4 separate regions of the Homo sapiens genome follow, and all the other regions are linked to region 1. Evidence: promoter capture Hi-C in human tissues and cell types (Jung and others, 2019). All regions are on one chromosome and are shown on one strand. The core of a region is centred on a gene start or on the middle of the fragment in contact, and the rest is flanking DNA. Distances in the headings are between cores, read along the strand shown.

What was found. The method cuts DNA at HindIII sites, captures the fragments that hold promoters and counts their contacts. A contact is called where the count stands out against the background at its distance.
Region 2: a contact is called between a fragment that was not itself captured here and the fragment with the promoter of NKX2-2 in region 1, in 1 of the 25 tissues and cell types used here (dorsolateral prefrontal cortex).
Region 3: a contact is called between a fragment that was not itself captured here and the fragment with the promoter of NKX2-2 in region 1, in 2 of the 25 tissues and cell types used here (H1 embryonic stem cells and pancreas).
Region 4: a contact is called between a fragment that was not itself captured here and the fragment with the promoter of NKX2-2 in region 1, in 4 of the 25 tissues and cell types used here (dorsolateral prefrontal cortex, lymphoblastoid cells, mesendoderm cells and 1 more).

Annotation. Positions count from the first base shown.
Region 1 is chr20:21,510,279-21,517,392 of GRCh38, reverse strand. It overlaps NKX2-2 (NK2 homeobox 2), which reads left to right and starts at 3,329. Exons shown (of 2, transcript NM_002509.4): 1 at 3,329-3,982; 2 at 4,908-6,376. The coding sequence starts at 3,724. The coding sequence ends at 5,470. RefSeq lists an enhancer at 1,132-1,632. The HindIII fragment of the contact is 15,862 bases long and covers 1-7,114 here.
Region 2 is chr20:20,642,829-20,649,942 of GRCh38, reverse strand. RALGAPA2 (Ral GTPase activating protein catalytic subunit alpha 2) reads left to right here. Exons shown (of 40, transcript NM_020343.4): 5 at 6,394-6,437. Among named protein-coding and RNA genes, the nearest start is that of RALGAPA2, 66 kb to the left of the region's middle. The HindIII fragment of the contact is 6,194 bases long and covers 1,252-7,114 here.
Region 3 is chr20:20,923,990-20,931,103 of GRCh38, reverse strand. No RefSeq gene overlaps it. Among named protein-coding and RNA genes, the nearest start is that of LINC03083, 43 kb to the left of the region's middle. The HindIII fragment of the contact is 3,405 bases long and covers 1,154-4,558 here.
Region 4 is chr20:20,950,617-20,957,730 of GRCh38, reverse strand. No RefSeq gene overlaps it. Among named protein-coding and RNA genes, the nearest start is that of LINC03083, 16 kb to the left of the region's middle. The HindIII fragment of the contact is 5,955 bases long and covers 163-6,117 here.

The sequences.
Region 1 (7,114 bases), core at 2,080-4,579:
CGATCGCGGAGGAGGCAAGGCCGAAGCTCTCTCCAATTCTCTCCCTCCCTGCCCAGCTGCCCCCAGGCCAGGGGAAATAAAAACTGGAAGACTCGCTGGGGTGAAAGTGTAGGAGGGGCCGGAGTCCAGGAGGCGTCCTGCGAGGGCAGGGGAAGTGGGCGCCTCAGGTGCTCCGACAAGAGGACACCGCAAGCTGAGACCCAGAAGGATTCGGCTGGTCATTGAGGCTAAGGGGCAGGCGCAAAGGCAAACCCGACCTTTGAGAACTGGGCTGAGGGCCTCCTTCTCTAGGCGCCTATGGCAGCACTCCCTCCCCGTGATTAATTCCAGGAGCCAGGATTCCCCTAGGAAAGCAATCCTCTCTCAGGCGCTCTGCGGACCTTGCAGGCTCCCACGGGTGAGGGGAGGGGACTTGATCAATAGCAGCGGTGCTGATTTAGATCCTGAGAAGAAAGGGTCACTATGCTGGGGAAGGGGGAGAGAAGTTGGGAACTACATGGAACTTCAGCGAGGTGGTTCCCAGCTGAAGAAATGAACACGCTTTGGGAGGCCTCTGCGGGCACTCCCCCACCTAAGAGGGCTCTGGGGATATGCGAGAAACGACACTTGCTGCCAAAGACCCCTTTGCCACCTGACCCAAGAATTTGCCTGGCCCAACCAGATCCTATTCTGGGTCCCCAACCTAGTGGCTGCCCTGGACCCCAAGACAGCCTCCACCCCCTTAGGACTGAGGAATAAGAGGAGGAACAAAAGGAGGGTCTTTGCTGCAACGCTTGGGTTGAGGAACTTTTTTTCTCTCCAGTTATTTATTTAGCAGCTGAGTAACAATAGCAGTGGCAGGCCCACTCCCGCCCCTGGATCCAAACTCGACGCTTCCCCGACTCCTGGAGAACCAACTTCCCTCCTCCGACGGGGCAGAGCGACGAGCTCCCACGTGAAAGGGCGGAGGAGGGGGGGCGCTGAGAAAGACAGAGACGGAAAGCGAGCAAAAAAAAAAAAAAAGCACGAAAAGTAATGGGTTCGAGGAAGACGATTCAAACAAGTTTCTAATTCTTCCAGGGGAAAAAAGGGGGGAAGGAGGGGGAGAAAGGAGAAAAGAAAAAGTAGGAGGAGAAAGAGGAATCGGGGAGCGTCGACATGAAGGGGTTTCCTTAATATTGTGGACGGATTCAGAAATGAATGAAGAGATAGTCCATTGAAAAGGGTTGAATGCCATGACAACTAGGAACAACCTTAGATTTATTCCAAACAGTTAGGACACATTGAAAGAGAGCGTCAATCATGTATTATTTCGCCACTGAAATAAATGCAAAAACCGAGCCGGGACAAAGGCTTCCAACGGGAGCGGGACATTTGTCTACATTTCGCTCATTGTCCGCAGCTTAGCAATCGGTTTGTATTTGTGTTTGCCCGGGTCCGACCACCCAGGACGCGCCGACGAGGGGCTTGCTCTAACCTGGGCCATTGTCACCCACGTCACATACTGGGGGCGAGGCAGCTAGGGCTGCAGAAAGCCGCCGAGCGGCTCGGGGAGAGGTGCCCTCACCCAGCGCTGGCAACCCGGGGGCAGCTGGGGCGCGGCGGCGTCCGCTGCAGCTGCGCGCGAGGAGGACCCGGTGCCCGCGCGCTCAGCTTGGCCCGCGCGGAGGAGCCCAGGTTGTGGGAAGACTAGACCTGGACCCCGCAGGGGTGGCCTTCTGTGCCCCTCCCCGCCCCCAGACAAAGCTCCTTCCTGACACTCCTCTGGGGCGAACGAGCATCAGGTAGCCAATCTACACCCCTGCACCCCCCCCCCAAAAAAGTTTTAACTAGAAGAAGGGGTGGCAAATGCGGCGTGGTCTTTTCCAACCCCAGCGCCGAGGAGGAAGTGCAAGTCCCGGGAAAGTTCAGTTCCCAGAGCCGAGAGTGGCTGGAAACTTCACACTAACCTGACTTAACCTGGAAACGTGGAGCGCGTACTCCGAACGCACCCAAGGCGTCCAAAAAGAGACCACACTAAAGAACTCGCGTGGGAGAAGAAAACTGGGGAGAAAACGAGGCATCGTCGGGCCACCCAGCGACCCCCCTCCCCCGCAGCTTTCTGGGTCTTCACCCAGGCTGGAGACACAACCCCCACCCCCACCCCCGCAATCCCGCCCCGCCGCCTTCCCGCTGCTCCACCTCTAGCCAGAGGCTGGAGAGGGAGGGGGCCGGAGAGGGAGGGATAATAGAGGGCAGGAAAGAGCAGGGCCGTCTGCCCTTTCCTCCACCCGGGGAAAGAGGCCCGCAGAGCCCAGAGGCAGCAGGGCCAGGGTCCGACCCCAGACGAAGTTGGAGCTCCTCACTCTTACCCCGCCCTCCCCGGGACCGCCCGCAAAGCAGAAAGTGAACTGCGCGTCCTCCTTGGCCGCAGAGAGGTGGAGGCGGGGGGTTGGGGGTGGGAGGTGGGGGGAGGCGGAGTGAAGGAAATAAATGAGTCTTTAGCAAATAAAGGGCGGCTGGAAGGGGGCGGGTCGCTTGGTGGTGGCTCTGGCCGGCCCGGAGCGGAGCTCTCTCCTGGGTTTTGGGCTCTCTCGCGGTTAACTGGAATCAATTACTTGCCTTGTCATTTCTAGCACTCATCCTTAAGCCTCAACCAAAATATTGACCTAGGAGGCTTACAGAAGTTGGGCTCTTGCCATTTGAACCGGATCTTGTTTAGGCAACCACCAACGATGGAAAGGAGAGATTTCCGCAGCTCGGCCTTCGCCCCCTCCCCCTTTTCCAAAGGCGCCACAAATCGCCAATTTTCCGGCTTGCCGGGGGTGGGCGCGCGGGGGCGGGGAGGTAGGAACCGGTGAATGTTAAAGAGGATTTTTTCCCTCCTCCTGGTTTCTGTTTTGTTTTCTCCCCTCCTCCTCCCCACCCCCACCTTTTTTAAGATGCAATTTGTTAAAACGGCCCTTTCAAGTGTGTGGACTCGCGAGCGACGCGGTGGCCCTTTGTATGTAAATACTGGGTTTAAAAAAAAAAAGGCTCGCCCCGTCTTTGCAATTAATTGACACGTTACACCTCTCATCTTGCTCTAGAGGGCCGTTGGCTGGGAGCGCGGAGCTCCCCAAAACCCACAATTTCACATCTGCAAATACTGTCTTCATCCACTTGACTCCCAAGACCCGCCCACACGTGGCCAACCTTTGCGTTTTTAATGTCTCTTCCCCCTTTTTTCCACCCTTCTCCCGCTCCCTCTCTCGCTCCCCCTCCCTCCCTCTTTCTTTCCCTCCCTCCCTCTCTTTCTCCCCCTCTCCCCGCCTCCCCAGGTTCGTGAGTGGAGCCCAGCCTTATATGGACTGATCGCTCGGGCAATGGCCCATTTTTTCCTCGCCACCAGCCGCCACCGCGCGCCGAGCGGCCGCCGGAGCCCGAGCTGACGCCGCCTTGGCACCCCTCCTGGAGTTAGAAACTAAGGCCGGGGCCCGCGGCGCTCGGCGCGCAGGCCGCCCGGCTTCCTGCGTCCATTTCCGCGTGCTTTCAAAGAAGACAGAGAGAGGCACTGGGTTGGGCTTCATTTTTTTCCTCCCCATCCCCAGTTTCTTTCTCTTTTTAAAAATAATAATTATCCCAATAATTAAAGCCAATTCCCCCCTCCCCTCCCCCAGTCCCTCCCCCCAACTCCCCCCTCCCCCGCCCGCCGGGGCAGGGGAGCGCCACGAATTGACCAAGTGAAGCTACAACTTTGCGACATAAATTTTGGGGTCTCGAACCATGTCGCTGACCAACACAAAGACGGGGTTTTCGGTCAAGGACATCTTAGACCTGCCGGACACCAACGATGAGGAGGGCTCTGTGGCCGAAGGTCCGGAGGAAGAGAACGAGGGGCCCGAGCCAGCCAAGAGGGCCGGGCCGCTGGGGCAGGGCGCCCTGGACGCGGTGCAGAGCCTGCCCCTGAAGAACCCCTTCTACGACAGCAGCGACAACCCGTACACGCGCTGGCTGGCCAGCACCGAGGGCCTTCAGTACTCCCGTAAGTAGCAAAACTTGGCTGCCGAGGCCGTGGTCCCCTCCATTCCTGCAGCCGCAGCCCGGGTTGGACGCTGGGAGTGAAAGGGGAAGGGGCCATGTAAGCCCGGACCCCCTCACTCGGATCCGTAGAAAGATTTTTAACACCTGTATAGGATGTCCTCTGCCCTCCTCTTCAAGCCTCCTTAGTTCCGGGAAAGAACTTGGTCTCCAAAATTTTTTTCAATGCGAGAAGTTAAGGAGAAAGAGGGAGAAGGGCTATACCTCCCAGGGGCTGGTATATGATGTCAACCCGGACCGATGGCTCCAGCCGCAGCCCCCGGACTCCGGCCGCTGGGAGGGACTGGCCTGGCGCCCTGGAGGTAGCCAGCGAGCCTCGTCCGGGTACGGGTGGAGGGTGGGGAGGCTTCGGGTGGCCCGGGTATAAATAGCTCACCCTGCCCCCTGCGCGATCATAGAGGACGCTTTGTGCAGTGCAGGGGGTGTCTAGAAGGCCCGAAAGCAGAAACGAAAGCCCCCAAAAACCTGCCTTAAATGGCCGAGCCGATCAATGCTGGGATTGTGGGGTATTTCTTTTAAAAATCTGCCCACGTCTCGCCGGAGAGGAAACCGCTTAAGGGCGCCGGAGCCCTTAACCCGCGATGATCTTCAGTGCCACTTCCCCCCCCAAATTCTCACCCACACTATGTGAGCCCCTTGAAAGGCGAGCCCCTAGCCCCCACTCCTACGGATTTCCCTCTTTACCCTGGGAGGTCCCGACGTCTTCGTCAGGCGTAGAGGAAGGCAGGGGTCATGGCAAAGGCAGCGGGGCTGGGCTGCCAGGCGCGGAGGTCCAGGGTCGCACGGAGGATCCAGGGTGCTCCGAGTCTGGTGCAGGCTGCGCGCGGCCTCCAGACGCCTGACGCGCTTCTCTCTCCCCCTCCCCCCAGTGCACGGTCTGGCTGCCGGGGCGCCCCCTCAGGACTCAAGCTCCAAGTCCCCGGAGCCCTCGGCCGACGAGTCACCGGACAATGACAAGGAGACCCCGGGCGGCGGGGGGGACGCCGGCAAGAAGCGAAAGCGGCGAGTGCTTTTCTCCAAGGCGCAGACCTACGAGCTGGAGCGGCGCTTTCGGCAGCAGCGGTACCTGTCGGCGCCCGAGCGCGAACACCTGGCCAGCCTCATCCGCCTCACGCCCACGCAGGTCAAGATCTGGTTCCAGAACCACCGCTACAAGATGAAGCGCGCCCGGGCCGAGAAAGGTATGGAGGTGACGCCCCTGCCCTCGCCGCGCCGGGTGGCCGTGCCCGTCTTGGTCAGGGACGGCAAACCATGTCACGCGCTCAAAGCCCAGGACCTGGCAGCCGCCACCTTCCAGGCGGGCATTCCCTTTTCTGCCTACAGCGCGCAGTCGCTGCAGCACATGCAGTACAACGCCCAGTACAGCTCGGCCAGCACCCCCCAGTACCCGACAGCACACCCCCTGGTCCAGGCCCAGCAGTGGACTTGGTGAGCGCCGCCCCAACGAGACTCGCGGCCCCAGGCCCAGGCCCCACCCCGGCGGCGGTGGCGGCGAGGAGGCCTCGGTCCTTATGGTGGTTATTATTATTATTATAATTATTATTATGGAGTCGAGTTGACTCTCGGCTCCACTAGGGAGGCGCCGGGAGGTTGCCTGCGTCTCCTTGGAGTGGCAGATTCCACCCACCCAGCTCTGCCCATGCCTCTCCTTCTGAACCTTGGGAGAGGGCTGAACTCTACGCCGTGTTTACAGAATGTTTGCGCAGCTTCGCTTCTTTGCCTCTCCCCGGGGGGACCAAACCGTCCCAGCGTTAATGTCGTCACTTGAAAACGAGAAAAAGACCGACCCCCCACCCCTGCTTTCGTGCATTTTGTAAAATATGTTTGTGTGAGTAGCGATATTGTCAGCCGTCTTCTAAAGCAAGTGGAGAACACTTTAAAAATACAGAGAATTTCTTCCTTTTTTTAAAAAAAAATAAGAAAATGCTAAATATTTATGGCCATGTAAACGTTCTGACAACTGGTGGCAGATTTCGCTTTTCGTTGTAAATATCGGTGGTGATTGTTGCCAAAATGACCTTCAGGACCGGCCTGTTTCCCGTCTGGGTCCAACTCCTTTCTTTGTGGCTTGTTTGGGTTTGTTTTTTGTTTTGTTTTTGTTTTTGCGTTTTCCCCTGCTTTCTTCCTTTCTCTTTTTATTTTATTGTGCAAACATTTCTCAAATATGGAAAAGAAAACCCTGTAGGCAGGGAGCCCTCTGCCCTGTCCTCCGGGCCTTCAGCCCCGAACTTGGAGCTCAGCTATTCGGCGCGGTTCCCCAACAGCGCCGGGCGCAGAAAGCTTTCGATTTTTTAAATAAGAATTTTAATAAAAATCCTGTGTTTAAAAAAGAAAAAAAGAAAAAATCCCTGCCCTCCCGTTTGTCCTACTGCGCCGGGCCGGAGGCCTGGGCCTGGGAGCCGGGCCCGGCCGCCCGCGGGGCTCCCACAGGCGGTTCCTCTCGGGCGGGGAGGCCGGGGGTACCGGGGCCCTGGGGCGGGCGGGGCTCCCGGTGCAGGCCCCTCCGACCACAGGCTGCACCCCGCGCCTAGGATTGGGGCGGGGAGGAGAACGCTCGGCCTCCGGCCTGCGAGCGGTCGGCCGGAAGCCCAGGGCCGCCCACCCTCCCCCGCATCTCCCCTGGTCTCGCGCGCTGTCTGAACCCCGGGCGGCAGCGTCCGGCTACGGGAGGAAAAGTGACTTCGGGAGCCGCAAAGGCGAGGAGAGCAAACCCCCCTCGCTGGCCCAAATCTATGAGTGGCTCCTTCAGCCTGAGAAGCTGTTGAAGCCACTACACTCGATGACTTTCACTTTGTTACATTTGACTTACCTCACGCTAAGAAAGTGGGTGGGTGGGGGTCTGAGGTTAAGACTGGCTGCCTTCTCCCCACTCCCCACTCCTTTTCAAAATCTGCGGGCTGGTGCTGACCTAGGAGACCGCTAAGGCTGGGGGTGGGAACGGTCAGGGCGCGCGAGGCTTTGGCTTAGGGGGCTTGGGGGAAGTACGCGGGGTTCTGGGCTCGGGGGAGGGAGGGGATACTGCAGCCCTCCCTAGGATCTTTGGCCCCAGGAAGCCAGGGAGCGAGAATCTTTGGCA
Region 2 (7,114 bases), core at 3,099-5,598, 870 kb after region 1:
TAGGCCAGTAAATCATGGTGGATAAAGGTGACTGCTTGACATCTCATTTCTGGGCAATAATTAGAACTGATAGAGAGTGAGGCAATGGCAAAGAATCGCACTGGCAGCAAACCAGGGATATTTGGTATAAGGGCAGGCTGCGCATCGTCAACACAGGACTTAAGTTATATGTGTGTTGACTTTAAGAAGGCTTACTGCTCTGGAGCCTCTAGAAACCAAGTTTCCTGTCTCATTCAGTGTACAGTGCTGTGCCCGAACTCAATAATTATTTGTCAGGTAGGCAGAAGGATATATTTTGTATTAGAGATGTTTTATATAAAAAATGTTAAAAATGAATAATCCCTAGGTTTAAAGGGGTGGGGTTCAGTTATTGGAAAATTCACATATGTGCAATACCTCATATGTTTTTTATGAGTCATTATTAAATCTAGTTTGTTCACCTAGGTTTTTTATATACATAATGTAAAAACCAAAGGCCTAACTAAGCTGAAAATTTGTTTTTTGCTTTTTAAGTGTATTCCAGGCTTTGGGCCTGGGACTAACCAGTGGCCCCACATTGCCTGGGATGTGAACATAGCCTCTGACCAGTCTCATTTCTCAAGGTCCCTACTCCCCACTGGGTCCTAACTTTTCCTTGGGAGCCTGAGTCTGGCAGCTTTCCCTGCTCCCCTCATTCAGACCATACCATACCTCACTCTTCCTGAGAGAGCAGGGTTTCCCTGTGCACTTCACACAGGACTCCCTCAGAAGTGCATCACAGCCAGGCTGGGTGAAATCAGGGACCCCACCTGCCTCCATGTTCAGCAGGAGATGTCTGGAACTAATGCCCCTGGTAGCTTAGGGGCCAACTCACCTGGTGTTTTTCCATGCCCTCTCAGGGTGCTTTTACCGTTACTGCTCTGTGCTTCTTCCCCTCCCAGGCACTTCTTTGTGTTTTGCCCTCTGGGGGGGTCCTCTTCTTGCGTTAAACAATAGCCCTGAAACCTCAGCCTCTTTCTTTCACCTCCCTGACCATCTGAAACCTGACTTTTGTCTGAAGCTCCTCTGTCTCCCTCAGGAGTGGGGGTGAGATCATGGTCTTTCTTTTCTCCCATGCCAATTCTAGACATCAGCCACCATTCCCTCTGTGGAAACCTCTGTCCCTTTTACATGCCATCTTCTACCTCCTGGTTGCTGCCATGTCTTTTGACCTCCTGCTCGCTTGCCTTCCCCCCATCCCCCATGGCTTTGTTCTCTCCTAGCCCTTTTCCTTCATGCCAAGTTACCCATCAACCCCCACCGCAATCCTCTGTGCCTCAATGGCTTCAGACACTGATCTCTGTCTTGACCACATCCTCCATTCTCCTGATCTTTGACCCAATCACTTCCAGGTCGCCTGATCTTTTTTTCTTATATTAAAAAAAAAATATTTATGGGGGGTGGTTAACAATTTATACACAGTAAATTACATATATTTAAAATGCACATTTTGATAAGTTTTGACATAGGTATACATATATGAAATCATTACTACCATCAAGATAATGAACATAGGTACTACCCCCGAAAGTTTCCTCGTCCCCCTTGGTAATCCCGCTCTCCCATCTTTTCTCATCTCATCCCCCAGTCCCTAGGCAACCACTGATCTGCTTTTCTGGCCCTTGTAGACTAGCTTGCGTTTTCTAGAGTCTTACATAAGTAGAATCATGAAGTATGTACTCTTCTTTGTTTGGCTTTTTTCACTTGGCGTAATTATTTTAGGGTTTATTTATATTATTTCATGAATTAATAGTTCATTCCTTCTAATTTCTGAGTAGTACAGTATTCCATTGTGTGGACATGTCATAATTCCATAATTTATTCAGGTATTGATGGTCATTTGGATTGTTTCTAGCATCTGGGGCTATTATAAGTAAAGCTACTATAAACATTTATGCTCGTCTTTGTGTGAACATATGGTTTCCTGTCTCTTGGGAGTGGAATGGCTGAACCATGTAACAGTGTATGTTTAACTACTAGACTGTTTTCCAAAGTGGTTGTACCATTTTATATTCCTACCAGCAACATAAGAGCTCCAGTTACTCCACGTTCTCTTCAACATTTGTTATGATCAGTCTTTTTATTTTAGTGATAGTGGTATCTCATTGACTAATAATAATAATCTTAAGCATCTTTTTATGTGCTTATTTGCCATTACTTTGTCTTCTTTGGTGAAGTTCAAATCTATTGCCCATTAAAAAAAATCTCAGATTGATGCCTTGGAAATATTTTCTCCCCATTTCTGGCTTGTCTTTTCATTCCCTTAATAGTGTCTTTGGAAAAGTTGAAGTTTTTAATTTTTAAGAAATCCAGTTAATCAGTTTTTTCTTTTATGGATTGTGCTTTTGATGTCATGTGTAACACATGTTTGCCTAACCCAAAGTCACAAAGATCTTTTATGTTTTCATATAGCAGTTCTATAGTTTAGGTCTTTGATCCATTTTGAGCTAATTTATGTTAATTTCAAATTTTTTAGTGGAATGCTGGTTCCTCATGCTTAGTGTGGATCTTGTAGTGCCAGGAAGTTCTCTGTTCGTATTCCACTGGCCTCTTCTAGCAGGCTTGGCATACCATTAGCCCAGAGGGAGTTTCTCTCTTTCTTGCTTCTTGTTTGATGCTGATGGTGTACTGCATTGTGTGTAATTTGGTTTGAAGTGTGATATTGAGAAGGAGGTTTTAAAAAATTAAAACTAAATAAGAAAAGATTTTATAATGTTAAAGTTTTAGGTGAGAAATATCTGTATGATCTCCTGGCCTTAAAAATATTATTAAAAGATCTTTAAAAGATTGTTACTTGTTCAAAGAGAAATTGTCAAATGTGACAATTCTTACAATCTAAAATGAGAAGCAAAGAAATAGATTTTGAAAATATTATTGATGAATTTGCTTTCTTCAGAGCCAGGAAAGTAATATTATAATACATTCTTTGTTATAAATAAAATATTTAAACTAATGCTGTGAGTTTTAATACATCCAATTTTACATTTTTAAGCTACTTTAATGTTCTGCACGAGAAAAAAAAATTAAAAGTACATAGAAACACACATACAGAAGTATACCCTTTTTCTTTTCCCTCTGGTTCCTATATGGTTCAGCGGAACATTAGTAATTAAAAATTTAATATTGTTCATTATGGATTCTTTGCATTTTTTAAAATGCAATTTTTAAAAACCATTGCATGAAAATATTTATCTTGATTAATGAGTTTTTTAGTATCCCTTAAATTTTTTTCAGAATCTACACTCTTCTCTCACTAGTTGCAGCCCTGACGTTTTTACTGCCTCTTCAAAAGTAGTAAGACTTACATTCAAAGGATATTTATGGTTAAAATGTAGTAAAAGTTAGCCAATAGAAATTAGAAATTCATAGAATCAGCCCAAGTAATTAGATCTTATTTACTTATTCTTTCAGTTATTCCCATGGTCAAGGCACAGAAGAGGTGGGGTGGGTATAATTATAGTTTGAATAAGAAGTTTAAAAATCCAAACAGGCATGACATATATAGAGGAACTTAAAAATTAAAACAAAATGAGAAATGACTTGATAATGTTAAAGTAGAAATATCTTTGTGAACTTAAGGCCTTAAAAAATACCTACAGAGGGCTGGGCGCATTGGCTCACACCTGTAATCCCAGGACTTTGGGAGGCCAAGGTGGGCGGATCACCATATGGTGAAACCCCATGTCTACTAAAATACAAAAAATTAGCCAGGCATGGTGGCGCATGCCTGTAGTCTTAGCTACTCAGGAGGCTGGGGAACAAGAATCACTTGAGCCCTAGAGGCGGAGGTTGCAGTAAGCTGAGATCGCGCCACTGCACTCCAGTTTAGGCTACAGAGTGAGACCCCATCTCAAAAAGAAAAAAAAAAAGCCCTACAGAGGCCAAGCAAGGTTCTCAGCTACTTATTACCAGTCCTCATGCTATGTGCCTCCACTGCACATGTTTTTCTTGCTAATTTTTTTTTTTTTTATTATTAAAAAAGAGTTCCTTAGAGAATAGCTGATGCCCTGTCCTGTGTGGAAAATGTGCTTACCACATACCCGGCACTGTTCTGTGCATTTATATGTATTAACTCGTTTAAATCTCACTGTCAGTTGTCTGATAAGTACTATTGTCACCTCATTTTACAGATGAGAGAACTCAGGCATAGTGAGATGAAGTTACTAACTTAGGTTACAGTTAATAAATGCAGAACCTAGATTTGAACCCTAGCAGTCTAGCTTCTGAATCTGACTTATAACTGCTAAGCTGTACTGCTTCCCATGTACAAACGAGTTTTTCACTACAACAGAATAGACTAGATCAAATACATATGTATTAGTTTTCTGTTGCTGCTGTAACAAATTGCCAGATAAATTTTAAAAAGTTTGGGACCATTGACCAATATGGGTCATGTGTTCTATATGTCTGCATGTAATGCCCTTTCTATATGTATTTTTCTCCTCTGTGTGTAGAGAACAGTGGTTATAGGCATCTATAGGTAGTCCAAATACTTAAAAAACAACACTAACGGCCGGGCACGGTGGTTCACACCTGTAATCCCAGCACTTTGGGAGGCCGAGGCGGGTGGATTGCCTGAGCTCAGGAGTTTGAGATCAGCCTGGCTAACACGGTGAAACCCCATCTCTACTAAAATACAAAAAATAGCCTGGCGTGGTGGTATGCACCTATAATCCCAGCTACTCAGGAGGCTGAGGCAGGAGAATTGCTAGAACCCAGGAGGTGGAGGTTGCAGTGAGCCGAGATCGTACCACTGCACTCCAGCCTGAGCGACAGAGCAAGACTCTGTCTCAAAAAAAAAAAAAAAAAAAAAAAAAAGCACCACCACCACCAAAAACAAGCCAGACCCATCTTAACAAGGGGAAGGACTAACAAGCACCAATGCTCACACACAATGACCAGGAGAAAGTATTTCCAAGAATATGTTGCAAGATGATGGATTAGCCAGATGGCTGGAAAGAGAACTGTCTGTGCAGACTTTATCATTAGGTCTCCTGGGAGGTCTAGTATCTGTTGGCTCTGCCAGCCACCATAAGGTGTAATGAAGTAGATGTTAAACTGACTTAGAACAAACTCTCCAAGAATGGATGAACATGGGGACAAAGAACAAGGCCCCAGGTTGAGGAAAGGTGTGGGCTAGATGGACACTTGAACCTTAGCTGTGACAGAGAGAGCCAGCCTAGTAAATGTTGGCTCTAGACCAAAAATTACTGGATACAGTTTTGTGAAGGGAGAAGTTGGGGAAGGGGAGACACTTTCGCTTCATTCACTCAAGCACAAACTATTAGTTATTTAAGTGCTAGAACCTAGCCTGAGTCATGATGATGAGTTTCCTCCAAGCCCTAGTGTTAGTTGTTATGAACAGTAGAATCGTTCTAAAAGGTTCCTTCGGATTGCCAGTGATTTTTTTCTGGCTAATGAATTTCTAAAGAGTATGCATTTAGTTATTATATATGTATTTATCAATGTAGCTGTGGCTTGTATCAGTTGCCAAAACACTGGCTCTCTTGTTAGAGGAGCTCTATGAAATTCATTGGTGGAGTAAATATTATTTGATATCCAGTTGTTAAAGAGCTATCACAAACTTTTCATCAGAGGATCTAAGTAATTTTTTTCTTAAAGGATCTGAAATTTGACTGAGAGGAAAGTTCTCTTGCCTCAGATTTTCAGTATATTTCTGTTTTAAAAGATCATCTCCTTTTTTGAGGTTAAGATCCCGTTTTAGAGGCTACATAAGATATTTAGGTGGGGTTGCCATCTCCATACTGAGGTCATGAATACATTTATAGAAGACTTAGTAATAGTGTTCTATCCTCCTAAGAGAAGCTTTTCTCATTCTAGTGGGCTGCAGCACCAGTTTTTGTAGTTGACTGGAGTTCCGAGTCAGCCTTGATTCTGCCTCCTTGACAGTGACCAAAGCGCTCTGCTAGAGGATTTATTGATGGACCAAACCCCATAAATGTGGTTGTCATTGCCAGGAGAGAAACATGCCATTCTAAGTATTTGTAAAATGTTCTTGTAAAAATGTTTTGTGAGCAATTGTTTTACATTATTTTTACCTTTAGAGATTAAAAAAAAAAGCATCCATTTTATGCATGACAAGAGATATATGCGCATAATCCACTGTGGGCATTTGGCTTACCTTAATATCAGTCATTTTGACTGTTTTAAAAGAATTCTGAAGAGATACATACTTAAGGTACTTTTATCTTGAAAACGTCTTTCCCTCTGTGACATTGCTTTGCTTCTGAAGGTCAGCCTTCTTCCTTTTATTTTTAAAAAGTATATTTTTGTCATAAGTACATATTTTCTTAAAATAGATCTTTGATATGCATTTATATACTCTATTTATAATTCATTATTTTAAACTTTCAGGCTCAACTTTAAAGAAGCTTCTACACACTGGAAATTCTATTAAGGTATTTATTTTATTGTGTAATGACATTTTTTATTACTCTTAAATTTGTTAATGCCACAAAGTAACAATGTTAGGGCATTTTGGAAAAAAGATCTTTAGAAACCACTTGACTTAGTTTTAATTTTTAATTGAGAAATTATATTGTTAGGGTTTTGTTCTTACATCATAACTTATTGCGAGAGACATTTTAAATAGTATTAGGAGAAAATGGGTTGGGCTTCAGAGTTTAGAGTTCTGAGTTCTAATTCTGATTCTGCTGGGTATGGGTAGGGACCATGGGCAAGGCACTGACTGCTCCAGTTTTATCATCAGAAAAAGGAAGTGCAGTCGCCCTCTAAGCTTCAGAGCTCACATGCTTGATTCTGTCCATCTTGGTAACCTGGTTGTTAAAATTATAGTTGTCTCTAATTAATTTTACTAATTGTGAGAGCCATTGTGGGAGAAAAGAACAACAGGGTCTCACTCTTGAATATTTATTTGTGGCAGATTTATAGGTTAAAATTGGTTTATTTTGAAATGGATATGTCTTTTATTATAACATATACTTCTTGATGCTGAGATAAGATTACCCTAAAACATAAATGGCAGAAAAAATTCAGCCTGGGATGAATATTTTATGAAAGGTAATTCACTTGGAGTTAATTAAGTTGTGCGAATGCCTTTAATAAGCTAATATAT
Region 3 (7,114 bases), core at 1,607-4,106, 590 kb after region 1:
GTTGCAAGGTCATCAGCTTGGAAATGTAGTCTTGACTGGCTGCTGCTTCCTGGCAGCAACCCCAAACTATGAATGGGAAAGTTTGAAGTTTGGAGGGCGGGTAGATGTCTCTGCAACAGATGGAGTGGAAGGATCAATGGATAGAGAGGGGGTGGTGAGGATAGAGAGGGGATGGTGGGGATAGAGAGGGGATGATGGGGATAGAGAGGGCATGGTGGGGATAGGGAGGGGATGGTGGGGATAGGGAGGGGATGGTGGGGATAGGGAGGGGATGGTGGGGATAGGGAGGGGATGGTGGGGATAGGGAGGGGATGGTGGGGATAAGGAGGGGATGGTGAGGATAGGGAGGGGTTGTATTGTCAGGATCTGGGGAGCATTTCCATGTGGCTGAAAGTAGCAGGTAAATGGGGAAGGGGAGAACTTCTTCTTTTCTGCCTTAGGCAATAGTGATACCAGTGGAGAGCTGAAATATAAAAGAAGGAACTATATTTTTTTTCATTTTGTGGGGAGATGATGTATTTTGCTTGGTATATATGTTGGGCCAGGTTAGTAGAAATGGAACTTAAGATGAGGTTTGTGTACAGGCGACTTATTAAGGAAGTGCTCCCAGGGGAGACTAATAAGGACATGGAGGAAGCGGGACAGGGAAGGGAATAAGCCCAGCAGGGATGAGCTCTCGGGTAAAGTCCCACCCTCAGCCTGACCCAAGAGGGGAACTCTGGCCCTTCTGGCTCTCTGTATTATGTGGAGAGCCCAGGTTCATTCACCCAAGAGAGTGACAGGTGCAGGCAGGTAGAAGCAAAGCCGCAGAGAAGCTGGAGAAGGAGAACACAGACATGACACACGGGACCCCGGAACATTTGGACGGAACTGCAAACAGCATCTGCTACAAAGTCCCTTAAGAAATACAGTAGGGAATATGAGCAGATGATGGGACACCTGAGTCTGAAGCCTGAGAGAGGGCAGGAAAGAAGACACAGATCCAGGATCCTGCACATGGGTGGAGGTTAAGACCACAGCAGTGAATGAGACCATCATGGGAGAGAGTGCAAGATAAAAAAGATGAGAAGACTAGAACGTTAGAGAACACTAATGCGTAAGCATTAGGAGAAAGAAGAGACAATGAAGAAAACTGAGAATGAGTGTCCACAGAAGCAGAAGAAGCAGGAAAATAGGGGGTCACCTGCCCCAGAGGAGTTCAGAGAGACAAGGACTAAAATTGAATCTGGCATTAGGGAGGCCATTCCCTATTTTGGCTAGGACAGAATCAGTTTCATCCTGCCAAAAACCTCCTCTTTATTTTGTATTTTATTTGGCAACAAGCATGTGGATTCTTATGGAAATACCACAAGGAAAGGGTTAAAAGAACATTTGGGCTTGTTACTAATACCCACAGGAGTTCACTTCTTACTCACGCTCACACCTAAGATATTTATTGTATCACCCTGTGAGATAGAGACTCCTCGTTTCAATTAGTGGAAAGCTCGCCATTAGCTAACTAATTAAGGCTATTCTCTCACATCTATTTTCTAATTACAGTCACCACTGAGATATTTTCACCCAAGTGGCCAGCGATGCTGTGGATTTATTTTAAATTTAGTTTGACAATAACAAACAACTAATTAATGTTTACAAATATAATAAAATCCCTCCTGACGAGTTGTGGGTATTGCATACACTAGCAACCAGTTTATTAAAACATTAATTGCAGTTGGATTTGTTTTGGGATTCATGCATAATCCATTCAGTACATAGCAGGACTAACTCATTTTGAAGGGATTATGAATGAAATCCTCCACAAAGTCTTTCGTTTAATTCACATTGTAGTCAAGGAAGGGGAAAGTTTGCTTTCATCAAATTCTGTGGCTCTTCAGCATTCTTCAGTGTGGTACTTCATTCATTCATTCCTTCATTCATCCATATAGTATTTATCAATCATCTATTGTGTACATAGCTCTGTGAATACATGAAAAATGTGTTCATGGGTTATGCAGATGAAAACTGCAAAATTCAATCAATCAAGTGTCTACATTTCTAGCTGAAGCGTAAATTGGTACCCCCATTTTGGAAAACTGAAAGTGTCTTCTAAAGCTGAATACATCCCTACCTTACAACAGCAATTCTACTTGTAGGTATATACTCAACAGAAACATGTCCATATGTTCACTAACAAGACACTTGTGACTGTTCACTGCAGCATTATTTGTAGTAGCCCCAAACTGGAAACCACCTGAAAGTCCATCAACAGTAGAATGGGTACATAAATTGTGGCATAATCCCGTAATAGAACACTATGTAGCAATGAGAACAAACAAGCTACAAAAACAAGCAAAACTGGCCAGGAGTGGTAATCCCAGCCCTTTGGGAGGCTGAGGTGGGCAGATCACCTGAGGTCAGGAGTTGGAGACCAACCTGGCCAACATGGCGAAATCCCATCTCTACCGAAAGTACAAAAAACAGCCAGGTGTGGTAGTGGGCACCTGTAATCCCAGGTACTCGGGAGGCTGAGGCGGGAGAATCGCTTGAACCCAGATGGCAGAGTTTGCAGTGAGCCCAGATCGCGCCATTGCACTCCAGCCTGGGTGACAGAGCGAGACTCCATCTCAAACAAACAAACAAACAAACAATCAGACAAAACAAACAAACAAACAAACAAGTAAAACTAACAAGTCAGGATAGTGGTTGTCTTTAGAGGTAGGTAGTAAACAAGAGCTTTTGGAATTCTGGTAATGTTGTCTCTTCATCTTGGTTCTGGTTATGTAACTGTGTCCAGATTATGAACATTCTTCCATTGATTATAATTTATGTACTTGTTGTGTATTTATATTTTAATAAAATTTGCAAACAAACAAAAGTAAACATCTATCAGTTAGAGTCTTGCCTTTGTTCTTACATGACTGTGCTTGTTCTAATGAAAGTGTTTACATAATTATTTATGGCTGATCATTGATTGATTTGTTTGTTCATTCCACAAGCATTTTGGGGGACCTAATTAATTTGCAATGCTGGTGCGGATGAGTATGTATGAAGATATAAAAGCACATCAATCATGACCTCTGTCAATCATGGCCTCTGTCCACAAAGTTTTACAGGACATTGGTGGAGAAAATCACATAAAGCAACTGTTATAATACAGTATGGCAAATGCCAGAGTCACAGAAAAAGGGCATTTAAATTAAACCAGGGCAGGAGGAAAGTAGGTGAGATGTTCAGGAAAGGAGTAGAGGACATTTGCTGCCTCACGTCCCTTAGCATCCTGTCACCCTATTTAGGCAACAACCCCTGAGTTTTATTTGTGGACCAATCCATCACCCATTGGTCCAGGTGAGGCCCCAGCCTTTGGCCCTAGGACTACAGGATATGAACCAGGCTAAAGACAACCAGCATACTTCTTCCTCCAGCTTCTTGGACTTGTTCAGAGATGAGCATGTAACCTAAACTAATGCTAGAAAACTGCAGGAATTGTTTTAAAGCCTCTTCTTTGAAATTGAGAAGATTATGAATTAGAGCAGTAGCAGCCATCCCACCACTATTTGGAGCCTGACAATGTAGTCACCACACAGAGATGGACAGGGCTGAATCCAGAGGCCAAGAGAGACAATGTTTTCTGGTGACATCAACTGAGCCTTGGTCAAACTGAGCCCGAAGCCTGTCCTACTTTGAGACTTTGCAGTTAAACAAATTAATAATTTCTCTTTTGCTGAAGCTTATTTGAGTTGAGTAGCTGTTTTTTTTTTTAATTTGTAACTGAAAGATATTTAACTGATACTGAAAACTTCCAAGAGGAAGTGTTTGCACTGACCTTTGATGGTAAAATAGGAGTTAGAATAATGAAAGGGGAAGGAGCATCCCAAGAAAAGTGCAACATCATTCCAGAAGGCAGGGACAGGTGAAGAACTTGAGTCTGATCGAGTTGGTGCAATGAGGATGGGTTGGGTGTGAGTAGCAGAAGCAAGTCAGGAGTAGCACACAGGGCCTGGATCTTGTTGCCTGTGCCACCTGCCACCCTGCTCAGGGCCACTGAACCCGTATAATTCCTGTGCATGGGACAATTTCCTCCAGCAAGCACTTGCCTCCCACTGGCTGTAGGAACAGGGTCTGCTCTGGCTCACATTTAATACCCCAATGAGCAGCCCTCCACCCAGGACAATAGGTGTTAGTGAGAGAATGCCCCAGCTTCATCCCCAAGTGAGACATCTCAAGGCGTGTTGGACACCATCTCCCAGAAGCCCAGTGTGACTGAGCCCAGCTGCCCAAGCAGTGACCTGGTCAAGAATGGCCTGGCATTGACTTAGTCATCTATTGCTGTAATAGATGACTACCCCCAAATGACAGGGCTTACAACAATTATGTATTATTTGTCTTGATTCTGTGGGTCAGGAGCTCAGGTCAGACTCAGCCAGGGGGATCTGCTGCTCCACATGCCATTTACTGGGGTCATCACTCAGCTGTGTTCAGCTGGCCGCAGGGCTGGGCCGGAAGGTCCAGGCAGTTTCCATTCACTCCTGGCCCTTCAATGCTGCTGCATGTGGCTCTCTTTCCCATGCTGTTTCATTGTCTGTGGTCATCCTGATCTTCCTTCCCATGCGGCGGTGAGATTTCCCAGCAGAGAGAAAGAAAAGCTGCTAGCCCTCTTGTGCCCTGAACTCAGAAGTGCCAGAATGACGTCTCTGCCACATGCCATTGGTCAGAACAGTTACAGAGCTGGTTAGACCTGTGAGAGGGATGCAGGCTGCAGCGAGGCAGGAGCAGCGTGCTCACCTGGGAGGGGAGGGGTGTGGTGGCCATCAGAGGACAGCAATGGCCACTTCCCCACCCCCACCCATGCTTCCTCAGGCCACTTCTCAAATAAACTAGAGTCCTTGTCTTCTGGGGAACCCAACCTAAGGAAGCCCAATTTTGTTTTCAGTCTTAGTCTTTATTTTGCTAGTCTTTAATCCTAACTTTGGAATACATATATATTTTTTTTTATATAAAAAGCTGATCCTAGCATGATATATGGGCTGTAAGGCAGAAAGTCTGCACACGCCAGGAGGCTGAATTTATAATCTGCCCAACACTGGGCTCTTAACCATGGAGGTACCTGAAATGCATCTCGATGGCAGCTCCCCTCAACCTCCACCTGCTTCCAAGAGCATTTCACATACAGCGAGTCTAACTCCCTGATGGTGGAAATGCATTTTTCTTCTCTTTTTCTTGATCGGTCTTGCTTAGTTTATTAATTTTATTAGTTTTCCAGTAGCCAGGTTTTGGCTTTATGGATTTTCTCTACTATGCATTTATTTCCCATTTCATGGATTTTTGCTGTTGTCTTTTCCTCTACTTTGTGATTCTTTTTTGGCTTCAGAGATAATAGCTAAATCACAGAATTTCAGCTCTTCTTTTTTTTTCTAATATACCAGCTAAAAGCTTTAGCTACATTCTGTGTGTTTAATATATCTTGGTTTATTTTCAATGCCACCCAAAGGAACTTAGGTTTCCCAAAGCAGCTTTCTAGGTTGCAATTCTACCCACGTAGAGTCCTGTAGCTTAGATCTGGAAGGAGTCAAAGAAGGGTTCATTGTCCTGATTTCAGAATGGTGGAATGTAATCTAGAGCACATGTCATCCATAAGATCCCCTTTACTTCACATAAATGATAATGCCTTTTTTATTTGTGAAAATGAACTTTCATTTGTGCACCCTTTTGGTTTTCAGATTGTTTTTGTGTAGACTTACTGGACTCCACTGCAATTGCTCTTTTAAATGGTTTGGCCCAGCCTGCCCAGGGACCAGGCCTGCCTCATGCATGTCTCAGCCTCAGCTACTGCTCTTAGAGTTTTTGCTGCCCTTGAGGTGGGTTCTGGATAACCTTGGGCTTTTGTGGGCTTAGCTGATCTGTAGCTGACGTGTCTGCTCACTATCCTGGGATGCCACTGAGTTGGACTGCCCTTTGTAATATTTCGCCTGGCTTAGCCCAGCTCCCTGGACCTTGCAAAGGTCCCCACAGCTCACAGCAGGCCTAAGTCCAATCCAGTCTTTCAAGTTAGTGTCAGACAATGGCAATCCTATAAAATAGGCAGACCAGGAATTACAACTCTCTTTTAGGTTAGGTCCTTGAGAAGCAGAGCCTGAGGCAGGGATTTTGGTGTGTGTAAAATGTTGAGGGACAGTTCTCAGTAAGGAAGGGGGTGAAGCAGGACAGGGCAAGGGAAGGAGCCAAGCAAGGAGGTGGTCTCAGAAAAAGCCCAGCTGGGGCCTGATCCATGGGACAGGGATGGGGGCTTCAGAGCACTCACTACATTGCAGAGTGGCCCTTCTTGGAGCAAGAGGTCCAGCTTTCTCTTCCTCCAAGGCAGTCAGTCATTAGCTGGGGGCTGCCTGTGGTGGGAGGAGGGGGGCTGTAACTTCTCAAGTGCAACAGATCTATTAGCTGAGGGCAATTCTCCAGAGGGCGTGGGTAGCTGTGAGCAGTGGGCAGCCATACTTCCAACAGCATGGAGGGCAGGCACTGGTCCATACCAAGGACCGGGGTGGGTGATATGGTTTGACTGTGTCCCCACCCAAATCTCATCTTGAATTGTAGCTTCCATAATCCTCATGTGTCTCGGGAGGGACCCAATGGGAGGTAATTGAATCATGGGGTTGGGATTTTCCCATGCTGTTCTCATGATAGATAATAAGTCTCATAAGATCTGATAGTTTTATAAAGGGCAGTTCCCCTGCACCCGCTCTCTTGCCTGCTGCCATGTAAGATATGCCTTTGCTCCTCCTTTACCATCTGGCATGACTGTGAGGCCTCCCCAGCCATATGGAACTGTGACCCCATTAAACCTCTTTTTCTTTATAAATTACCAAATCTCGGGTATTTCTTCATGGCAGTATGAAAATGGACTAATACAGTGGAGGCACCAAGAGGATATACCATGTGCACCTGTTTTACTGAAGAGCAAATCAAAAGCTCAACCACTGCACCATCACAAGGCTGGTAACATACAGAGTCAGGAGTAACATCCATGCCTTTGAATTCATATATCAGCACGTTGCTTGTCCCATAACCCGTCACTGACAGCACTGGTCTATGGATATGTAAATTGGTTTCATCCCTCTGAACACATAGTCTCACCCTCTTACTG
Region 4 (7,114 bases), core at 1,891-4,390, 560 kb after region 1:
GCACCTATAGTAGTTCCTGGCCCACTGTAAGGATTTAATACTTTTGTAGAATGAATGAATTGGGGCAGTTGTGATTCATTCCTTGTGGCCACCAGGAAGATCTAGATGTTTTTTGTTTGTTTGTTTTTACTTTACTCTTATTTATGTATTGATTTATTTCAGAAGTGGGACCTCACTCTGTTGCCCAAGCTGGAGTGCAGTGGCACAGTCATCACTCACTATAACCTCAAAATCTTGGGCTCAAGCAATCCTCCCACTGCAACCTCCCAAAGTGCTGAGATTGCAGGTGTTAGCCACTTGACTAATTATTTTGTATTTTTACTTTTAGAGGTGAGGGGCTTGTCGTGTTGCCCAGGCTGGTTTTGAACTCCTGACTTCAAGTGATCCTCCTGCCTCAGGCTCCCAAAGTGCTGAGATTACAGGCATGAGCCACCATGCCCAGCCCCCAGGTGCTTTTTAATAGCATTGGCTAATGACTAACTGGTTGGCACAAATGTAACCAAATAATTTGGAAATATTGGCTATAACACGGGATGGGCATGGCCCATTCACTCATGTCTATTTAATAGAATGGAGAGGAAATTAATGTCTTCTTACAAAGGAAATAACCAAAAGATAAAGCTGCAGAACCCTAGGAGATGTATGTCAGGTTATTAATATTTTAACACTCATACAAATGAATGTTCTTTAAAACCAATTAGGCCCTTTAAAGAAAACAACCTCTAACTATGTTGTGTAAATTAATTCCAATCACATCTTCAAGTCCATTTACAGCCAAGCTCGGAGTCCTCCCCTTCCGTCAGCTGTTGACTTTCTAAGTGTCCCAGGCAGCTGCATGTCTGTCTGTGGTTCCCTGCGATGACTTGCCAAACCTAGGTTTCTTAGGACTGCTGACTTCTATGGGGCGCCCTGACAAAGCCTCCACTCTATGGAGGCTGCGAAGCGCAGGCATCCAGCCCGCCTGCGGCAGGAGTTCAGGGAGCCGGGAAGGCCTCTTTAAAACCATGTCACGCTCCTGTGACAACTGCTCCTCTGTGCTTATTTGAACTGTCCCTCCCAATTAGCAGTAATAAGTGACTCTGTAAAGATGAGCAAACACTGTGCCTTCATTAGTCCGCACCAGCTCTCCTCGCCCCTCCCACGTCTGCATTCCCTGCCCTGTGCCAATCAGCCCCCACAAATCCCCAGAGGATACCTCCAATAGTGTTCCGAGAAGGCTAAACACATCTTACTCCGAGGGAACAAGGACCGGCAGAAGGCAAATTAATGACAACCCATTTGAAGAGTTTGCTTGAAATTATTGTATTCTGCCCATCCACCGAAAAATTGATTACTCCCAGGGTAGGGGGAAAAATCCAAATCAATAGACTAAAGCAAAATGGTCAAAAGGCATGCACCAAGCCCATTTATTTTATCTATTTACCCTTCCCTGCTGCCCCCCTTCCCTTCCTCCTCCCTTGCATCCCTCTGCCCCTTCTCCATCCACACACATTTTTTAAAGAAATGAGATATAATTTACAGGGCAGGAGCTGTTTGGCCTTTTCAGATAAAGCGCTAATGGCAGCCCTGGGACGGCTGCATGGTTATACATCTCCCAGATGAACTAGGGCCTGTGAACACCTCCAGTTCCAATTGTCACCAGCATAGTGTCGGGGGTGATGTGGACTATTCCCTCCAGTGGCAGGGCAGTCCTTGCCTGCCAGAGAGATATGCAAATGAGGCCTTTGGCTCCCGATTTCAGCCAGGCACACAGTGTTTACTGTGATGTGCCCTGGTAGACCAGGAGGCTGGGGTAGGCACTGCTTCTCCACACCTATTAAACAGCCCTGTGTTCTTAGGGGGTCTCCAGCGACTCTGGGTGTCACCTTCCTCAATGGAAAAATGAGAACCATAATAACAGATTTGGATTTTGCCCTCCCTCTCTCAGAAAACAGCAAGGATCTCCACCTTTATTTCAGGATAAAATCCCAGCTCCTTCACCTGGAATTCAAGCCTTGCAAAACCTGGTGCCTTGAAGCCTCCACATGTCACCTCCCACTCCTCCAGGGATCCAGCCCCGCCATTCCTCTGAGCCCTGGTTCATGTCATTCTCCCAGCCTGGCAGGCCTTCACCCCAGTCCTCCATCTCTTAAGACCTTTCCAATCTTCTAAGGCCCAACTCAAATGCCACATCATCTTCTGTAATGGTCCCTAATCACTCTCTCTGACCCCTCAGCACATCTGTGCCTTCACTGAATAGATACAGATGGCAGATTAATCAGCAGGTACATTTCCGAACACAAAGGGTCATATTTAATGGCATCAAATGCTTCTCTGCCTGTCTTTCTCGGATACCTATCTAGCCCCATCATCTAGTTACCCCCCTCCACGTCTCTGTTAAGCTTTCCAACCATCTTAAGCTCTCAACACATCCAAAAAAAAATGTAGCAGTATCTTCTGGCCCCCACACACTCATGGTTCTGCCATTTTCCCATGTTACAGGCTAGGAGACCATGGGGTTGGTGCCGCTTATACCTCCTGTCCAGGAGTCAGATGGCATTTTTCCTTTTCATCAATTTGAGTAATGCATGGACCCATCTTAAAGGGAAAGCAAATTTTCGTGAATCCCCGGGGATAACTTATTTTTATTAAGATAAAACTGTTATTTATGTACAAATGCATATTAGCCTTCTAGGATTATAATTCTTATGCAACTATTAAAGATTTTGCAAATTCAAATAAAAATATATCTACAAAGCCAAAAACATTCAAATTGTTAAAGCTAATTTAACATCAAGAATCATCTTGGAAAGTCTGACTCTTCACTAACAGCACCAATAGGGTACAGGACACAAGGTGGCACCGTCTTTCATTCTCAGCATGGCTGCACTAATCTGGACTCCAGGATGCCTAAATCCTCTTCCCACCCCACACTTTTCCCAATTGAAGCCACTATCAATCTTCACTGGTCCAGCCAGGATGCCATGATGCATTTGGGTGTGAGTTGGGGCAATAGGGATGAAGGATAGATTGGAAAATGAGGAGTGAATTAAAAGAGCTATTTAGGAAGCCAGTGACTGTTAATAAGATCTTGCCTCTTAGCTCCAAGCTCATTCCTCTATACGGTGTTTTGTGATCCTTGTGAGGTAGGAGATCAGAGGGATTTGTTTTCATGACCCTGCTGATCTGAACAGGATGCAGCAAAGAAACCGGCCAAAACCAGCTAGGACTAGGAATTATAATATATTTGCATAAGACACTCTCATCAGCTCCACCACAGTTTACAAATGCCATGACAACACTCGACTTGGAAGTTATCTTAAATGGTTCCAAGAATTCTCCACCCCTTTTCCGGACAGTTTGTGAATAACCCACCCCTTATTTAGCACATAATGAAGATTTGCAGTATCTTACACAGGGTGTAAATAGAGCTAGCCAGCAACCCACGAGTGCTACTGTGTGCTCCTCTGCCTATGGGATAGCCGTGTTCTGTCCATGAAGCAGCCATCTTCTTCAACACGTTGCTCTAATAAACACAGTTTATTAATAAATGCAGTTCTTGACAGCATCTTCTCAGTCTCGCTTCCTCACTTCGCAGCGGCTTTCTTTCACTGTCAGCTTACTCTTGAATTCTTTCCTGAGTGAAACCAAGAACCCTCCTTGGCAGGACCCCAATTTGGGGGTTTGCCTGTATCACTAGGGCTGAAGCCTTATTTCTGCTTTACTAGCTGCTTCTTTTGGGGCTTTGAAAACACAGGGTGTTTGCAGGAGCTGCAAGGCTGAAGTGAGAAGGGACCTGTGCCCTTTAATTGGCTTCCTGTTCACATGAGCATCACCCAGCCACACTTCTGGCTGCTTCCTTTACTTTCAGTTCTTGACAGCATCTTCCCAGTCTTGCTTCCTCACCTCTCAGCGGCAGTTCCTTCCACTGCAGCAATTTGCTGTTGTTATATAATACGTGCAGAGCTAACCTCATTGCTTCTGCTGGGAGACACCTGCCCAAGCTGGCCAGGGCCCCTCTTCAGGGGTCTCAACTTCAACTCCATGGTGTCTCCTCTCCATACTTCTAGGTTTCAGTAGTTCCAACCTTTTCCTTTTTACCCCTTAGCCTTAGACTGGTAGCTGCTTTCTGAAGTTGCTACCTCTGTGACATCTTAGAGGTCATGTTTAACTATTTTAGTTACAAAATTAAGAACCATTTATATGAACTTCTCTCTGTTAAAATAACAGATAAGGTTTCTGTCTTCCAACCGCTACTGACACCATTCGGCTGGCCTGGGCATGATCAAGACCATAGTTCACAATGGGAATGGAGGGAAGTGGCTGGATTGAGAAGATTTTTAGGAGGACAATTAATAAAAGGGTCATGCAAATTGAAAGATGGAAGAGAGAGGAAGAGGAAGGACTTCAGCTTCCTAGAATGTGCAACTGGTAGAAGGAGGTGCCAGAAACTAAGGTAGGTGAGGTCAACATTTTCTGGTGCCTTTGGCCACCAGCATTCATTCCTTCTTCTCTTGCAGGCAGCATGCCTATTTTTATTCCCACGTCCATCTGTAATCCTCCTAAGGATGACATGATGGTCTTTGGGGTGGGACAGGTGGTTCTGTCGTAAACCAGTCAGCACTATTCCTTCCTCTTGGCCATCATGATTGGTTTAGGAATAAGGAGATAGACTAAATTGATCCAATCAAGCTAAAGCCCAGTTATTGGTTTTCTGTGGAAGAGACCCCACTAGCACCAGATAGGAAGGAGCACATAGTCAATGCTGGCCCACAAGGGTGACTCTGTCAGGAATGAATGTGGAGAGGGCAGAGCTAGGACATGGAGAGAAAGATATAGGTCTTGAGCAACCGGGCCCACTTGGCCCAATACCAGCCCTTCCACGATGTTTCCGTCACATGAATTGATTGACTCAAAAACTGACTTATTGTTTCAGCCTTTATTTCATAGTCCAGTGTATTAGTCTGTTCTCATGCTGCTTTGAAGAAATACTTGAGACTGGGCAATTTACAAAGAAAAGAGGTTTAATTGACCCACAGTTCTGCATGACTGGGGAGGCCTCAGGAAACTTACAATAAGGGGGAAGGCACCTCTTCACAGGGTTCCAGGAGACAGAATGAGTGCAAGCAGGGGAAATGCTAGAAGCTTATAAAACCTCAGATCTTGTGAGAACTCACTCACTATCACGAGAACAGCATGGGAAAAACTGCACTCATGATCCAGTCACTTCCCACTGGGTGCCTCCCACGACACGTGGGGATTATGGGAACTACAATTCAAGATGAGATTTGGGTGGGGACACAGCCAAACCATGTCAGCCAGTTTGGGTTGATTTTAGCAATTAGCAGCTAATCCTTCTAAGTAATACAGTGGAGAGCACTAATTAAAAAATGGGTTTGGGGGAAACTGGTGCGCTCAGCTTAGGACCAGTTTTAGGCTTTCAGGAGGAGACTTTCTAGATATAAAAGCAACTGGTATTTACTGCACATTTGCTACAGACCCTGTTTTAAAGGTATTAGGGATACTTAATATTTATACAACCCATGAGGTGGTGGTTACTATTGTTACTTCCACTGTACAGATAAGAATACTGAACCATAGCAGTTAAGGGCCTTGTGTGAGGTCCACCTTGCTCCCTGTAGTCTTTGTTACCTATTAATAGGGTAATAAAGACTTGTGACCCTGAAGCTTGAGAGGGAATTATCTAAATATGACTGTTTTTGGAAACTGATCACCATCTCATGTAAGACTGATTAGACTAATAAATAAGCAGGACTAAGATTTCAAGTCTCATTTGTAGGACATCCCAAACTGTTTGATTCTTCTATCCATCCCCTTTCTTTTGTCTCAGGAGTGTACATTTTAAATTTAGGTTGGGATCCTCCAGAGGCTGACCCTAAGACTGAGACTTGAATGCAAGTCATTTATTTGGAAACAATGCCAAGCAGCACTGGTAGGGGAGTGAGGAAATGGAGTGGAAAGAGACACTTGATCCTGCTGGGGACCCCTAGGATCCTGTGTACAACATGCTTTAGACTCATCCTGTGGAGGTAAAGACACCCTCCACCCTGTGGAGGGTTGCTCGTGGGACATGAAGTCCCTGGCACTTCTGGCCTGCCTCAGGCATGGGCTGAGCAAGTTCTGGGGCAAGAGAGGGCTCTGTCTGACAGCTTTCAATGCCCACCAGCATCATAGGTGCTAATGGTAGGAGACAGTAGGGTTGGCATGTGCAGGAAGGGTGGATGCAAGGCATTGTGAACAGGCATGGGCAGCATCTCCTACAGAAGCAAACATGGCATCAGCTTCCAGCCCCTCAGAGAACAGCTGGTGCATCTCTAACATGAGGGCTGTGAGGAGGAAGCACAGCTTTTATCATCGTTATGGTCCAGCCATTTCCTAACACCCCCAAACTTGGTCTCCTGCACATGGCCTTGTGGTTTGTTGCAAGGGCTGTGGCCAGAGCATAGCATCTTTCTTTGAGCCACTTTCACAACATCTCCATAGGCTGCATTGATCACAATTTGGGTCATGGGCTCAAGTTAGGAACCAGTGGTCTACATGAGATCAAGTATCTAGAGGTTTCCAAGCTTGTTTTAATGTTTTTACTTATAAGACACAAATATTTGGCTATTTCAAATTATCCATTATGTTTTCCTTTTGAATCCAGATATTTGCATATTTCCTTCTTACATCCTTGATGGTGAAGCTCCAGCTCTCCTGTGGAGCCAAAGTTTACTGTTTCTATTTTTGCTCTAAGGGAACATGCGGCAAGTTGTATTTTCCAAAAATGGCCAACTCAATATTTTTGACTCCACATGTTCTTCCAGAGCCTTTCCATTCACTCACCAAAAAGTAAAGTCCATTTCTTCTCCCCTGGAAATTCAACGTAAGTAGATGCTGGGGGAAGTGATGCCATGTGACTTCAGAGGCCAGGTCATAAACAGCCATGTGGCTTCTACCTGGCTTTGTCTGCTTCCAAGTACTCACCCTGGAAACTCAGTCACCATGTTGTGAGGAAGCCCAGGACACAGGGAGAGACAACATGGCCAGCCCCAAATTCCAATGTGCAACTGAATGTGCAATGTGCTTTCAAATGACTCAGGCCCCCAGCATTGGAATCTTCCAGCTGAAGCCC